Regions from separate parts of the Homo sapiens genome. Here region 2 is linked to region 1. The links are contacts of gene promoters, found by promoter capture Hi-C in human tissues and cell types (Jung and others, 2019). All regions are on one chromosome and are shown on one strand. Each heading gives the region's core, a stretch centred on a gene start or on the middle of the fragment in contact. The rest is flanking DNA. Distances are from core to core; before and after follow the strand shown. Region 1 holds the start of TMC2 (transmembrane channel like 2). Region 2 overlaps LOC105372505 (a long non-coding RNA gene).

Evidence for each region. The method cuts DNA at HindIII sites, captures the fragments that hold promoters and counts their contacts. A contact is called where the count stands out against the background at its distance.
Region 2: a contact is called between a fragment that was not itself captured here and the fragment with the promoter of TMC2 in region 1, in 9 of the 25 tissues and cell types used here (H1 embryonic stem cells, dorsolateral prefrontal cortex, heart left ventricle and 6 more).

Annotation. Positions count from the first base shown.
Region 1 is chr20:2,535,307-2,538,006 of GRCh38, reverse strand. TMC2 (transmembrane channel like 2) reads right to left here and starts at 1,434. Exons shown (of 20, transcript NM_080751.3): 1 at 1,352-1,434; 2 at 691-738. The coding sequence starts at 1,385. The region is part of intron 2 of LOC105372504 (a long non-coding RNA gene); the gene reads left to right. The HindIII fragment of the contact is 10,824 bases long and covers 1-2,700 here.
Region 2 is chr20:2,643,728-2,646,427 of GRCh38, reverse strand. LOC105372505 (a long non-coding RNA gene) reads left to right here. Exons shown (of 5, transcript XR_007067502.1): 2 at 2,047-2,700. Among named protein-coding and RNA genes, the nearest start is that of NOP56, 7.6 kb to the left of the region's middle. The HindIII fragment of the contact is 9,020 bases long and covers 1-2,700 here.

The DNA.
Region 1 (2,700 bases), core at 185-2,684:
CATCACTCCCCAAGATTCTGGTTTCTTGCCTACTAGTGTGGGGCGCAGGACCCAGCCCTGCCTGGGACGTGAAGGGGGAGAAAACAGCATCGCATCCATAATATTTTGTGACATGAAGATGCCCAGCCTGTGAGTGTGGCTTCTGCCCCTCTCCCCTGAACCCTCAGTCTCAACCAAGGGTTTTCTCTCCCGCCTATGGCTTCCTTGGGCTCTCCCACTTCTCCTGGAGCAAGTTGGCTCCCTCACCGGCTCACGGGAGAGCTGTGGTCACATTCCCAGTGGGAAGGTGATGGAGCACCCATTATGCCTACTACTTTTTGGAGGTTAAGAGTGTTCCTCCTAGAGTCCGGGGGCCTGGATGTGAATCTGGCCACACCACCCGCCAGAAGCCTGCACCGAGCTTCCCTGCCCTCTGTCTGGTGAATGTTCACTGCTTCCCAAGGCTCAGCTCAGAGTGTCACTAACCCTGGGAGTCTCCCCTGACACCGAGGGCTGAGCAGCACCTTCTCTGAGTGGTACTCTGCCCCCTCCCATGTTAAACACCTTGCCTCCCAGGAAGGCTCCATGCAGGGTGTTGAATGAGAGGGAAGGAGATGAAGGAGAATGTTGGATGGGTGGCTGGACTGTTGGGCTAAGCAGAGGGCACCCAGGCACTGCAGGCTCCCCAGAGACCCCACCACCCCATCTCACCTGTGTGTGGAGAGCCGCTCTTCACCCGCCCTTTCACTCCGCCTCGTGCTGTAAGAGACAGGATTGCTGACAAATGGCTGGCCTCTGGTGAGTCCCCCTCCCTGCAGACCCCCGGTCACTGTGGGACCCCTCAGCTGATTTGTGGCTGCCTCAAACTGGGACCCAGCTCCAATGATTTTACTCAGCAAATTATAGAGTCCCCTGCCTGTCACATTTGTCTGATACTGTCAGTCATGAGGTCAGAACATCCCCCACCCCCTGCCCTGCACAGAGACAGAGACAGATAGAAATCTGCTGAGGGGCTTGCTCGGAACAGGCAACCCTAACCGAGACAATAGGTGGCTGAGACGCCCCAGCAGGCTCTGAGGAGCATGCATCGGCCGTGACAGTCTCCAGTGCTGGCCTGAACACAGGTGCTGTGCACAGGTTGTCTTGAATCCTTCCAGTAGCCCTGCAAGGAGGTGATGACTACCCCCATCTCATGCGTGAGGATCAGAGAGGTTGAATAACCAGCCGAGGTCGCTCAGCGCACAGGGGACAGGCCCTGGACTCAAACCCAGCTCCTCCCTATGCCTCTGAACACCATATGTGCTTCCCCCATCCCCTGCTGCTGCCCAGGAACCCTGTGGGCGGGCCCCGCAGGATCAGGACGTGGACTCACCTTCCTCTTTCAGGCCCTTTACCTGGTGGCTCATGGTCAGCAGCACTGCTGGGGTCCTGCACAGGCTCACGCAGCGTGCTCCTGTATGCACGCCTTCAGCCTGGGCTGCTTTCCTGCCCTCATGGTGGCTGGCCTCCCTTCCTAGACCTGACAGCAGGCGGGGCTTCTTGGTTTGAGATTGAATGTGGAGGTGGGTGAAGTTTGGGGGAGAGAGACGGGTGAAGGAAGGCGACGAGTTCCCGGCCCATCAATCCGGCCACACACTCCTCTTCTCAGGTTTCCCTGCAAAGAGGCAGCATGGCCTCATGTTTCAGGCATCAGTTATACATGAGGGGCCCTGGAGGGGCCAGGAGCTGCAGGCTTATCTCCTGGCAATGATGCCGCTGGCACTCTAGCCAGAGGAGGTGTGAGGAGCATCCCAGGCCCTCTCCCACTATCTTGAGTCCCTGATTGGGACAAAGCACCAGGGAAATTCTAGAATGTTTGTTTAAGTTATTACTTGGGCTTCTGTTTAAAATGCAGATTCTGGCATGTGGTGGTTCACACCTGTAATCTCAGCACTTAGGAAGGCAGAGGCAGGAGGATTGCTTGAGCCCAAGAGCTCAAGACCAGCCTGTGCAACGTAGTGAGACCCCATCTCCACAAAAAGAAAAATAATAATAATAAATTTTTAAAAATAAAATGCATACTCCCAGGAGTGGCACTGGGCGTTGGAATCAGTCAGTCTGTGCCAGGCCCTGGGAGCCTGCACTGTGGATCCTGCTGCAGGCGTCCTGAGCCCACACAGATGAATGTTCCCGCTCAGCCCCCGCCCCCTCCCTCAGCAGCTTTTCCTCCCTGGCTTCAGGGAGGCACAGATTTGGCTGCTTTGAAAACCATCACTAAAGTGTCAGAGGGACCCTCTGGAAGGCAGTCATAAGGTCTCAGAGTGTGGAGTTCTTAATCTGGAGTCCCTGGAACCCCCAGAGCTGTGGATGGAATTCTGTGGGTTTGTGAATAGTGATGGAGAAAATACTACACTTTCACTTTTCCTAGCCTTAACTGCGATTTAGCATTTCCCTCAATCATGAATGTAAGCAAAGATGTGATTTTTGTCTCAGCAAAAGTCACAGTTATTTTTTTTCCCAATTAAACCACTGGGGATGTCTCAAAATATCTTACATGTTATCACAACTTCAAAATTATGATAGTTAGAGACCTGCCATGAAATCTTGTTATTTAATTAGGAAGCATATATTGTCATTATATGAAAGATATTTAAAGTGATTTTGATGCCTATTTCAGGATCATTGGTCTCCTTTGTAATCCTAGTGTTTTATTTTATGGATTTAATGTCTATGTTCTGAAAA
Region 2 (2,700 bases), core at 120-2,619, 110 kb before region 1:
CTTAGAATATTTGATGGTACTCACACACCTGGTGATTTTGCCATTGAAAATTATACTTCAGTTTTTATTCCCTAGGAATCAAAAGGGATAAAGTTCCTATCTTATTTTTGTTTTTGAGACAGGGTCCCTCACTTTGTCACCCAGGCTGTAGTGCAGTGGTGTGGTCTCGGCTCACTGCAACCTCTGACTCCTGGGCTCAAGCGATCCTTTCCATCTCAGCCTTCCGAGTAGTTGGAACTACAGGCATGCACTGGCTAATTTTTGTATTTTTTGTAGAAATGGGGTATCACCATTTTGCCCAGGCTGGTCTCGAACTCCTGGGCTCAAGCAATCCACTTGCCTCAGCCTCCAAAATGCTAGGATTACAGGCATGAGCCACCATGCCTGGCCTCTATCCTTAGTTTTAAAGTCATCTCTTGGGAACAGCTTATAGGATTTTAAAATCTCCATCAGATAGTCTTTGCCTTCTATCTAGAAGTTTAGTCCGTTTGCATTTATTTTGATTCCTGATATATTTTGGTTTATTTCTTTCGTCTTATGTGCTTTATATTTTATTTGTTGTGCTATTTTTGTTTATTTGCCTTTTTTCTTCCTGTTTTGGAGGCACTATCAACCTAATGCCACTTTTTTTTTTCTTTTCTGAGATGGGGTTTTGCTCTTGTTGCCCAGACTGGAGTGCAATGGTACAATCTCGGCTCACCACAACCTCCGCCTCCCGGGTTCAAGCGATTCTCCTGCCTCAGCCTCTCGAGTGGCTGGGATTACAGGCATGAGCCAACATGCCCAGCTGATTTTTGAATTTTTGGTAGAGACGGGGTTTCACCATGTTGGACAGGATGGTCTCGGCCTCTTGACCTTGTGATCCACCCGTCTTGGCCTTCCAAAGTGCTGGGATTACAGGTGTGAGCCATCACGCCTGGCCTGAAAGTCTTGAAAAAAATAAATTAAAATTTTCATTTGAGTTTTTTGGAACATACAGATACAGTTGACCCTTGAACAACATGGGTTTGAACTTCACAGATCCACTTATATGTGATTTTCTTCCATCTCTGCCACCCCTAAGACAGCAAGACCGACCCCTTTTCTTCCTCCTCCTCCTCCTCCTCAGCCTACTCAGCATGAAGATGACAAGGATGAAGACTTACGATGATCCACTTTTGCTTGATGAATATTAAATATATTTTCTCCTCTTCATGATCTTCTTAATAACATTTTTTCCTAGCTAGCTTATTCTATTGCAAGAATACAGTATTAATACATGTAACATATAAAATTTGTGTTAACTGACTTTATGTTATCAGTAAAACTTCCATTCAACAGCAGACTACCATTAGTTAACTTCTGGGGAAGTCAAAAGCTATACATGGGTTTTTGACTGCAGGGGGGTCAGCACTCCTAGACCCAGTGTTGTTCAAGGGTCAACTGTAGCATATGAATTTAGAGCCTCTCTGTGAGAGCTGCCTTGTGGCTAGAACTTCTCAATGGAGACTTTTTCTCCTCTACTTTCTGCCAAGGTCAAGAGAAATACATGTCTCTTTCTGCATGGCGGGTTTATTTTTTATTGTCCATTATTGAGCATGAGGAACTTGGTGCTCCAGCTTTGGGTGGGTCTCTACCCACCCACTTCAGAGCACGTCTGAAGTGACTTTACTGAGCTGAGCGTTACCACCATAGTGAGTGCTATTGGTAACCTGCCCAGATCACCTTACTGGCTGGTGCATCAGCCCCTCCCCTTAGTTTCTGCGAGTGTGCAAATCAGTGGGAGACCAGGTATCCCCTTTGATCTTCTTCATCTAAAGTGTCTTCCTACTTATGTGATTCTGTGTACTATGGAGCTCTTAGGAAATAGAAATGGAAGTTGAAGTTATTAGAAGTGAAAGGATCAGCCTACAAAAATAGCTTCCAACAGATAAAATCCAGCATCTGCTCCATTTCTCTCCAGTTAGGAATGCGCAGCCAAACTAGGGTAATATCAGCAGGACACCAGTTATATTTCTCTGGATAAATGGTTAATTTTCTTCTTTCTTTTTTTTCTTTTCTTTTCAGACGGAGTCTTGCTCTGTCACCCAAGCTGGAGTACAGTGGTACAATCTCGGCTCACTGCAACCTCCGCCTCCTGGGTTCAAGCGATTCTCCTGCCTCAGCCTCCCAAGTAGCTGGGATTACAGAAGCGCACCACCACACCTGGTTAATTTTTGTATTTTTAGTAGAGACGAGGTTTCACCATGTTGGCCAGGCTGGTCTCAAACTTCTGACCTCAAGTGATCCACCCACCTCGGCCTCCCAAAGTGCTGGGATTACAGGCATGAGCCACCACGCCTGGCCAGAGTTGTCTTGATAGAGGTCTTGTAATTATTTGAATTAGAAAATTTTCTGTTAAAATATGTCCACAAATTCTTTGGTAACCCTCCCTTCAAGAAGTGAAGCCTAAATCCCTTCCCTTCCAGTGTGAGCTAGACTTAGTGACTCAGTTCTATGAGTAAAAGTGGTGGAACTGATAGTGTGACTTCTGAGACTAGGTCATAATAGGCATTGTGGCTTCCTCCTTGCTCTCCCTCTCAGATCACTTGCTCTGGGGGAAACCAGCAGCCATGTTGTGAGGACACCCAAGCAGCTCTATGGAGAGGCCTACATGGAGAGTAACCAAGGTCCCCTATCAATAGCCAGCAAGGAACAGAAGCCTCCTGCCAACAGTCACGT